Regions from separate parts of the Homo sapiens genome. Here region 2 is linked to region 1. Evidence: promoter capture Hi-C in 16 types of primary human blood cells and fetal thymus (Javierre and others, 2016). All regions are on one chromosome and are shown on one strand. The core of a region is centred on a gene start or on the middle of the fragment in contact, and the rest is flanking DNA. Distances in the headings are between cores, read along the strand shown. Region 1 holds the start of KLRC1 (killer cell lectin like receptor C1). Region 2 overlaps LOC105369657 (a long non-coding RNA gene).

The links. Contacts are between HindIII fragments. The CHiCAGO score rates a contact against its expected background, and 5 or more counts as called.
Region 2: a fragment that was not itself captured here is called in contact with the fragment with the promoter of KLRC1 in region 1 in 1 of 17 cell types (total CD8 T cells); the score reaches 5.1 in total CD8 T cells.

What each region holds. Positions count from the first base shown.
Region 1 is chr12:10,451,172-10,456,824 of GRCh38, reverse strand. It overlaps KLRC1 (killer cell lectin like receptor C1), which reads left to right and starts at 3,448. Exons shown (of 7, transcript NM_002259.5): 1 at 3,448-3,627; 2 at 5,638-5,653. The HindIII fragment of the contact is 4,540 bases long and covers 1,273-5,653 here.
Region 2 is chr12:10,512,698-10,518,350 of GRCh38, reverse strand. All of the region lies in intron 3 of LOC105369657 (a long non-coding RNA gene), which reads left to right. It also overlaps a transcript of EIF2S3B not described here. Among named protein-coding and RNA genes, the nearest start is that of EIF2S3B, 9.6 kb to the right of the region's middle. The HindIII fragment of the contact is 184 bases long and covers 3,140-3,323 here.

The DNA of each region.
Region 1 (5,653 bases), core at 2,199-4,698:
AAGATATGGAATCAACTTATGTGCTCATCAGTGGTGGACTGGATAAAGAAAATGTGGCATATATACACCATGGACTAGTACTCAGCCATAAAAAAGATAAAACCATGTCCTCTACAGCAACATGGACAGAGCTGGAGGCCATAATCCTAAGCAAATTAATGCAGGAACAGAAAACCAACTACTGAAGGTTCTCACTTATAAGTGGGAGCTAAACACTGAGCACCCTTAGACGTAAATATGGGAACAAAAGACACTGCAGACTACTAGAGGGGAGAGGAGAGCAGGGAAGAATGGTTCAGAAAACTACCTACTTTGGATTATACTCACTATTCTGGTATAATATACCCATGTAACAAACCAGCACATGTACTCCCTGTATCTAAAAATAAAAGTTGAAAGAAAAAAAATTGGAAAAATTCTCAAGGACAGTTGACTGGCCAAAGATTTTTTGAGTAATACCCCACAATCACAGGAAACCAAAGCAAAAATGGACAAACGAGATCACATTAAGCTAAAAAATAAACAAAACCCCCCCACGAGATTCTCTTATCTTAGACTTTTGACAATTTGATTATATTATGCCTCATAATAGTCTTTTCTGGGCTGATCTTGCTCATGATTCATTGAGCTTCATGAATCTGGATTTCCATATCCTTCCCAAGTGAGGAAGGTTTTCAGACAGTATGTCTTTAAAGAAAAAATATTTTTGACTTTTTATGTCTCTCTTCTCCTTCTGAAGTTTCTATACTTTCTATACCATATTCTTGGTGGTGTCTCAAAGGTCTCATGCTTTCTTTGCCACTTTTTATTCTTTTTTTACTCTAATTTGTTAATTTTAAAAGACTCTTTTTTTGAGTTCACTAATTCCTCTGCATGATTGAGTCGGGCATTAAAACTCTCTATTGACTTATTTATTTCTTTCATTGTGTTCTTCAGCTCCAGAATTTTTGTTTGGTTCTTTTTAATAGTTTATATTTCTTTATTAAATTTTTATTTTGTTCATGTATTTTTTGTTTTAGTTGTATTTTTTGTTTACTCTTTTCTTTTGCATCTCACTGAGATTTTTTAAGATGATTGTTTTGAATTACTTTAAAGGAAACTTATAGATCTCCATTTATTTGGATCAGTTGCTAAAGCTTTATTAGTTTCCTTTGGTGGTGTCATATTTGTCTGATGCTTTGTTATTTGTTTATCCTTGTACTGATGTCTGTGCATTTGAAAGAGCAGACTCTCTTTCAGTCTTTACAGACTGGTTTCGGTAGGTTAAAAGCTTCTCCTGTTAGTGTCCTGGGCTGATGAGATTGCCTTCAGTATCATGGTTGAATGGGGTTACAGCCAGATCACATGGTTGCTTACGGGTCCAGAGTGGGATCTTTGGTTCATGATCCTTTTACTAGGGCTTCTAGCAGGCTTGTATCCTATTTAGTGCCTCAGAGGGCCAAACTGGCTCTAGAATCATACTGTATAGGGCTGGGGAGGGGATGAGGGTCCACTTCAAGGTCTGTAAATGGTGGGTCTATTATTAGGTGTGTAGTTGGGGAAGAGTTTATCTAGTTTGCTGGGAAGGCTGCTCATGGGTCTCTGAGTGGGTTCCTCAACCTGTGGCACAGAGGAGTTAGTGCTAAGTCACAAGGTTTCCTCGGGGTCTATAGCTGAAACCAGTGTCTTCATGTCTGTCTCTGGGGTCATGGTTGAGTGTGTTTTCTGGCAGGTCTGTGGGCAGGCAGATTTGCCTCAGACTGTAGTTGAGTTGGGCTGGAGCTGGATCCAGAATTGTTTCAAGATCTGAAATAAAACTAAGGTCTGTGCCTGCAGGGGCACTAATGATGTCTCTCTCCAGGTCCCTGTATGGGCAAACTGCTCTCTAGCATAGCTGAGAAGTGTCGAAGCCCCTTTTCTGTCCAATTAAAGGATCTGCTGTGAAACCTAGGTCAATGGTCTCCTAGTTGGGACATGGATGCACATGTCCTCCCTCTGTATCCCTGAGCTGGCAAGACTGCTCACAGTCCACAGCTGAGAAGGGTGAAGGTCAAGATTCAAGGCTGTTTCAGAAACTACCGTGGAACTGAAGTCAGCAAGCCTGTACTGCTGACAAAGATGATTGAGTCTCACAGCAATTTCCTGTGATTAACTCAGGTCACAGTTGAGAGGAGTTTGAGTGGAGATTCAGGGCCATTTTAGTATCTTCTGTAGGACAGAGGTCAGCAAGCATGCCCCAGAGGTACAGATGTATATGTCTCCCAGGAAGTCTCTGTGGGTGAAGGACTGATCTCAAGTTGTGGCTGACACTAGTTAAAGCCAAGTTAGAGGGCTGTTTCAGGGTCTACATTGAGACTACAGTTGATATGCCTACCTCCTGAGACACTAGTGTGTGAGTCTCCTCCTGGGCCCCTGGGCAAATGGTTTTGGCAGCATGACCAAGGCCTAAATGGGGCTGAAGGCAAGCACAGGAGGATGGGTCCCTTTTCAGGTCTGGAGATGGAATCACTGTTGGTAAGTCTGCCACTTGGATGCAAATCTATTCCCTAAAACAACCTTCCTAGGTCTTGGGTTCCACTGGCATTTTACAAACTCCTACTTGAATTCCAAACTCCCTCAAAGGAACTTTTGTCTGTGGATGGCTGAAAAATTATTGTTGCTGTGGGGGCATATGTGTGGGGGACCACCTATTCTGCCAATTTACTGACTTTCCTCCTAGTAAGATTTTAAAATTACTTTTTCCCCATACATAGTTTGACTTCAGTTTTTGTCATTTACAACTAAATATTTCTATGAAAGTCGACATAATTTGTTATGGCGGAGGATGAATAAATGAAGAATGTAATGAATAGCTATTTAATATTTCAATTTCTGGTATGCTAATATATTTCAAAATTGATTAATATTTTACCTATCCAAGATATTTTTATCAAGGGTAATCTGAAGATTAAATAATCTATTTTTAAAAATTAAGTGCAAAAATTTAAGAACTAAGAGAAGTTAATAATATAACTTTGGCAATGATGCTTTTTGTGCCAGCTACAATCAATTGAGTAATTACTGCAGTAATTTTTCAGAATAATTAAGGAAAAAATCAGTAGATATCAGTTGATAATATTACTATGAGTTTTAGAATGTTTTCTATTATAATGGAAGTGACATAATAAAATAATATAAAGAAAAGAAGTATGCAATGTTAAGATTTAGCAACCTAGTCTAAAAGGCACTCTTAACAAGGTGAGGGTTGACAATGTTCGTGATCAAGACAGAAAAAAAAAAAATTCTCATAGGCACTTGAAAAATGAACCAACTAAATGACACACTTTCAAAGTCAACCTTGTACTTTTAATAGACCAAGTATCCTATATTTTGGAGGTGTGTGATGAGATAAAACTGATTTCACAATAGCCCATGTGTAGAATTTCCTGTTCAAACCTTAGTAACACGTTGATGAGAAATCTACTTTTTCCACTCTTGACTCACTCTGAGCCTTCACAGGGCAGTCTGCGAAGATTGCAGGCATTGTTTGTTCTTGTCTTGGATTTATGCCTTTAAATTTCACCTTTTATTACACAGCTATAGCAGGCCTTTTTATGAGACTAACCTGGCCTCTCCACTAAAGGATGTGTGACTTTCTGGGGACAGAAGGTATGTATTGCTACTCTCCAACTCTCTACTAGCCTACCTCATTTAGTGGGTGATTTCAAGTGCTCAATATGATACAAAGGAGGTATAATTAATATACAATAAAATCAAAGTAGAATATTGCTGTCTTCATTTGAATAACTCAGGGTAAAAACCTAAAATATGAAATATGTTGAAGGATTTCTTAAAGTTTTCAAATTATTGTTTGTGGAAATCTAGTGGGTTTGTTGATCAATATCGTTTAAGGGAAAGCTATTAACATCACAATAATGAACAATTAATTTTGTATTTTGTAATCAGTACATCATGTATCTTTGAATAATAATTTATATTTAGCTTAGCCATTAAAGATTATTAAAATAAATCAATCAATTGATGAAAGCCAAATACAATTCCTCAGACACGTAGATTAGAGAAAAGCAGTTTTTATTTTTAATAAAAATCAGAATGAGGTAGATTACATAAAATGCTAAAGGTATTACAAAGCAATAAAAATACTTTTTAAAAATTGATCAAAATATTGCAAAAAAAGATGTAGCGCATGGACATAGGAGACTTATCTGAAGATTTATTTTCCATGCTTTAACTGACATGAATCAGAAACAGTAACATAACAATTGTGACTAAAATAATAATTAAAGTAGCTAATGCTTATTGAGAACTTTAAGTGCCAGGTTGAGTGGTAAATGTTTTACATGCAACGTTTTATATGTTCTTATGCCCATTTTAGATTAACAAACTGGGTTATTAAAAATAGAATAACTTTTTAAAGGTCGCACATTATAAGTGTCAAAGCTAGAATTAATTCTAGATCTCACTGACTCCAGAGCCCATTGACTAAATGATTTAATTACATTATCTGAAATTTTACAAGTACTTATACAACTAAAGTGGCCTTTACTCACTTTGACAACCATAAAATCATTCTATAAGTTTAAATGAAATGTGCTTTAACATGAATTACCTATACTTTTATTTATCATTTTTTGGTTCATAATTTAGCCAGGAAATAAATTACCAATTACTAATTAAATTACCAATACTTCTGTAAGTATTAACAATTTATGTAGTGTTCCTAATACTATTTAGGTTATGCATAAGTTAACTGTGTCACATAGCATTTTCTGTCATATACAAATATTTAATTTTTTATAATTTTTAATAAATAATTTTTAATAATTTCTTAGAACATTTCAGCCATTAAGAAAAGACCATTTAATTACCTCTATTGATTTTCATTAATGTGTATAAATTACTAATTAAAAGTAATGTAGTGCAAGAAATTTTTATATATATATATGTCAACTTTACTATTACTCATGTGCAGACCACATAGTCTTAACCATTACTGGATTTCAAAATTAACATAAAAATGAGTGCAGAAGTTTTTCTAATACAACATTTTAATTTTTAACACAGGTAAAACATCAGACTTTAAGAAATATATTTTTATTCCTGAACTTCTTTATTCCTTAGTAATTTATTGCTTCTCATTGCCCCAGCAATAATATTTTGTCAAATGCAGAAAATTTATCTTTTTTTTTTGAGTCGGAGTCTCACTCTGTCGCCCAGGCTGGAGTGCAGTGGCACAATCTCCGCTCACTGCAACCTCTGCCGCCCATGTTCAAGAGATTCTCCTGCCTCAGCCTCCCGAGTAGCTAGGACTACAGGCGCCTGACATCATGCCCGACTACTTTTTGTATTTTTAGTAGAGACGGAGTTTCACCGTGTTAGCCAGGATGGTCTCGATCTCCTGACCTCGTGATCGGCATGCCTCGGCCTCCCAAAGTGCTGGGATTACAGGCGTGAGCCACCGCGCCCGGCCTAAAAATCTTTTTTTAAAACAAATATTCATAAGAAACGTGTTTAGGCTTGAAGAAAATCAGAGAAAGAACTTTAGATTATTTAATGCAAAATGAGCTCCAATACTCGTTCTCCACCTCACCCTTTTAATTGCACTAGGGAATCCTGTATATAAACCATTTATTAACTTCTTAACTACTGTTATTATAGAGTACAGTCCCTGACA
Region 2 (5,653 bases), core at 1,982-4,481, 62 kb before region 1:
CTAATGGTAAAGGGATCAAGAAGAGCTAACTATCCTAAATATATATGCACCCAATACAGGAGCACCCAGATTCATAAAGCAAGTCCTGAGTGACCTACAAAGAGACTTAGACTCCCACACAATAATGGGAGACCTTAACACCCCACTGTCAACATTAGACAGATCAATGAGACAGAAAGTTAACAAGTATACCCAGGAATTGAACTCAGCTCTGCACCAAGTGGACCTAATAGACATCTACAGAACTCTCCACCCCAAATCAACAGAATATACATTTTTTTCAGCACCACACCACACCTATTCCAAAATTGACCACATAGTTGGAAGTAAAGCTCTCCTCAGCAAATGTAAAAGAACAGAAATTATAACAAACTGTCTCTCAGACCACAGTGCAATCAAACTAGAACTCAGGATTAAGAAACTCACTCAAAACCACTCAACTACATGGAAACTGAACAACCTGCTCCTGAATGACTACTGGGTACATAACGAAATGAAGGCAGAAATAAAGATGTTCTTTGAAACCAACAAGAACAAAGACACAACATACCAGAATCTCTGGAACACATTCAAAGCAGTGTGTACAGGGAAATTTATAGCACTAAATGCCCACAAGAGAAAGCAGGAAAGATCCAAAATTGACAACCTAACATCACAATTAAAAGAACTAGAAAAGCAAGAGCAAACACATTCAAAAGCTAGCAGAAGGCAAGAAATAACTAAAATCAGAGCAGAACTGAAGGAAATAGAGGCACAAAAAACCCTTCAAAAAATTAATGGATCCAGGAGCTGGTTTTTTGAAAGGGTCAACAAAATTGATAGATTGCTAGCAAGACTAATAAAGAAGAAAAGAGAGAAAATCAAATAGACACAATAAAAAATGATAAAGGGGATATCACCACCATTCCCACAGAAATACAAACTACCATCAGAGAATACTACAAACACCTCTACGCAAATAAACTAGAAAATCTAGAAGAAATGGATAAATTCCTCGACACATACACCCTCCCAAGACTAAACCAGGAAGAAGTTGAATCTCTGAATAGACCAATAACAGGCTCTGAAATTGTGGCAATAATCAATAGCTTACCAACCAAAAATAGTCCAGGACCAGATGGATTCACAGCTGAATTCTACCAGAGATACAAGGAGGAACTGGTACCATTCCTTCTGAAACTATTCCAATCAATAGAAAAAGAGGGAATCCTCCCTAACTCATTTTATGAGGCCAGCATCACCCTGATACCAAAGCCGGGCAGAGACACAACCAAAAAAGAGAATTTTAGACCAATATCCTTGATGAACATTGATGCAAAAATCCTCAATAAAATACTGGCAAACCGAATCCAGCAGCACATCAAAAAGCTTATCCACCATGATCAAGTGGGCTTCATCCCTGGGATGCAAGGCTGGTTCAATATACGCAAATCAATAAATGTAATCCAGCATATAAACAGAACCAAAGACAAAAACCACATGATTATCTCAATAGATGCAGAAAAGGCCTTTGACAAAATTCAGCAACTCTTCATGCTAAAAAATCTCAATAAATTAGGTATTGATGGGACGTATCTCAAAATAATAAGAGCTATCTATGACAAACCCACAGCCAATATCATACTAAATGGGCAAAAACTGGAAGCATTCCCTTTGAAAACTGGCACAAGACAGGGATGCCCTCTCTCACCACTCCTATTCAACATAGTGTTGGAAGTTCTGGCCAGGGCAATTAGGCAGGAGAAGGAAATAAAGGGTATTCAATTAGGAAAAGAGGAAGTCAAATTGTCCCTGTTTGCATATCTCCTTCTTTACATATTGAGAGGTGTATTTATGTGTAATATTTTATGAGATTTGTGATCAGCATAGTGATTTTAATCTTAAACTCTACAATAAATATTCATTTTGCTCTAATTCTGAGGGCTTTGTCATGCTCACTATATATTCTGCCTTTTGATTTTGTATAGACTTTTTATGGCATACTGTTGCAGTAACCCTGGGAGTTGCTGGCTGGCATTTGCAGGCTTACGATATATGCATGAGTATCAGCTACACATATTTCATATGATAGCAATAAGACAGGATGAAAAATGAGACACTATAACTGTGGAACCTCTACGAAACTTTGTAAACTATAAGGTTCTAGAGACATGTTAGCAATCATAATGGTACTGATGATATTGATGAAAATGATTTTATTATGTTGTTATCATTTAGTTTTTGTTTATCATTTAGCCACACAAAAGAGCATATAGCTGTGATTACACAAAAATTTCAGATACACTACACTTTACTTACCAGTGAAATTTTAAAAATAAAATTTTAAAATAATTTATTTTAATAAAATTTAAAAATATGTTAGTGTATATATATACTAACACCTATTTTACATATGTATACTAACACTTATTTTATACTAAAAATAAGCTAATATATATATACTAGTATAAATTAGTATGTATGTAGTATGTATATAATATACACACAGACATAGTGTACCCATGTATACACACACATATATATACATGTAGTATACTAGTATAAGTTAGTATGTGTGTGTGTATACGTATATTATATATAAAATAACACTAAGTTTTTTTGTGTGTAAAATGGGGTTTGCATATGACCAGTGAGTTGGGAGAATCTTTGATTATTACATTTTTATCTTACTGAAATACTGCTTAAATCACAAAGAGAATAAATTTGATGTCCTTTCTATACAAATAAAATGTTACTAGAGTTATAGAGTGAAGAACATGAATAAAGGACAGATTTGGGTATTATAATTGCCAACAATTCCTGGGTAATAAACTGAAATATACCAGTTTTGATATATTTCACATCAGTTTTTACAAAACTGTCCTCTACACTTTCTTTCAATATCTTTATTCTGATTATTATTAATTATTTGGTTCATTCATTCAACAAACAACTTTGGGTATCTTCTATAGGTCAGGAACTATATATGGCACCGATGATACAGAATTTTTTTTTAAATTATCAGCTTTCAATGAGCTCAGTTGAAAGGAGAAGTTTTTTTTAAGTGAAGCAGATTGAAATATAAAATACTGCTAGTGCTGTAATCGTATCATGAAAGGATCAGATGAATGTCATATAACATCTTGAGGTCATAAAAGCTTCCCTGTAGATCATAATTGATGTGAAGTAGAGGACAAGCAGGAATTGGGGGGCTGAAGGTAAACAAGACTAATGTAGATGGAGTGAAGAATATGAATAAAGGGCAGATTTAGGTATTATAATTGCAAATAGTTCTTGGGTAATAAAAAATGTGGCTAGAAATTGATTTGGACAGGTATGAAGCTTCATGAGGGTCTTTTGCACTATGTTAAAAATTTTTAGATTTCCCCTAAAGGCAAAGAAAACGATTAGATGATTTTAAGTGAAGGACCAATATGACTCATGTTACATGAGCAGATATGGATTTTAGAGAGGTCAATCTGAGTAGCCTAGAAAGTGGGTGGGGGGATGTAAAGGAAATTGTTTTAGGAGTCAAGGTTAGTGACAATGACTGTCTAAACTGGCATCATGAAAAAAAGCAATGATGGGTAGGAAACCTATATGAGAAATATTTACAACGTAGAATTGCAGGAATCTGCATTGGATTCAGTGGTTGAGGGAGAGGAGGAAATCCATAATTTCATATCATATCAGCCTTCACACCTTGATGGATATAATTCTATTAAATGTTATAGAAAACACAAGAAGAACATTAAACTATGTTTGTTGTGATAATGGTGATGATTTAGGTGCTTTGTGGTATATCACTGGAGACAACCAGAAAGAATTGGTCTGTGTCTCCAGAGTGAGCTTTTAGTAGCAGACATAGACCATTGGCATGTATATGGAAGGATTAAATGTCTGAGATCAAGAGAGATACCTAGACTGGATATATAAATTGTGGAATTATCAATTAATATAATAAGTATTTGAAAACATTGTAAGGAAAGGAGAGCCAGATGACAAAAAAAGCTTTGTAACATCAGGGAGTATTATATTATGTTAGAAGAGAAGGGGTCAGAATGATGATCTTTAGGATAAGTCAACATTTAGAAATAAAATATGAGTAAATAGCAAAAAAAAATGATATTTTGATGAGACAAGTAGGAGGGAACCCAATATAGTAGAGTATCTGGGAGAGTAAGCTATGGTGAAAGTAGATTGCAATGGCTAAAACCTATTGGCCAATTAGGAAACAGAGACACTGAGTTCAAAAAAATTATTTTTTAAATTATGGCTAAGAAAAAAAATTTACCAAGCATTGAAAGTATGGAGAGCTACATGATTCTTCTTCTTCTTTTATTTATTTATCTTTTTTGAGATGGAGTCTCGCTCTGTCACCCAGGCTGGAGTGCCATGGGACTATCTCAGCTTACTGCAACCTCCACCTCCCAGGTTCAAGTGATTCTCCTGTCTCAGCCTCCCAAGTAGTTGGGACTACAGGCATACGCCACCATGCCCAGCTAATTTTTGTATTTTTAGTAGAGATGGGGTTTCACCATGTTGGTCAGGCTGGTCTTGAACTCCTGACCTCAAATGATCCACCCGCCTCAGCCTCCCAAATTGCTGGGATTACAGGCGTGAGCCACTGTGCCCGGCCTTATATGATTCTTATATGTTATTAAAGGAAATATAAATTGATACAACCACTTTGGGAAACAGTTTGATTTTATCTTCTAAAGCTGAACATGGCTCAGGAATTCTAACTACATATCCAAGAGAAATATTTGCATAAGTACAACAATGCAAATTTACAGGAATATTTACAGCAGTGCTGTTAACAATTTGAAACATCTCGAAACTATCCAAATAACCATTAATGGGATAATGATTGCAAATCCTCCAACAAATACACAGGGACCCATCCATCTGTCTCAGAAAAAAATTTCTCTTCCCACTGAACAAGTCTGAAACTCCCACCCCAGTGTTGATTTCAGCCCTAGTATAAATAAGCAAGAAGGTGAGGGGATTTATGCCTGATAGCCACTAGTTTTATGTGAAGTAGCAGAGGAGGGGTAGGATAATATTTACGTAAATTATCTACTTCACCTCCTTGATTCTCCCAGAGGAGCATGACAATATGAGGTGAAAATAAAAACCAAATTTTCTGTACAATGTCATACAATTTTATAAAGTTAAAACATTAAAAACAAAAAATAATTTTAAGGAATAACAAAGCAATAAAGTATGTATAAAATAAATCAAGGGAATTCATCACATAGGATTCGGTATGATAGTTACATTTTTGAATGAGGTAGGAGGACGGGAAGGAGTGAAATATACAAGTAGATAAATGTAATGGTTATGGTCCTAGCTATAGTTTTGGGTTACAACTAACAAAGTGAGTAACTAAATAAATAAACAGAAGTTCTTGGAGCAATGATAAAAGCGTCTTATGAATGAAATATTGTGAATAATCCTATCGGGCACCTCAAGGTCTAAAAATTAAAAAGAGACAACTCTGTTTTAAAGAGCAGGAAAAAGAAATAATAGAAATCTGGGAAGCAAGAGTGGCTTGAGATTATTATATACAAGAGAAGAGAAACATTGGAGGGAAAATGTTAGAGGAAAAATGATAATAGAAGTGGAATAGCTAGAGATGATGATTCTTTAGGACATAACAGGGGGTGATATC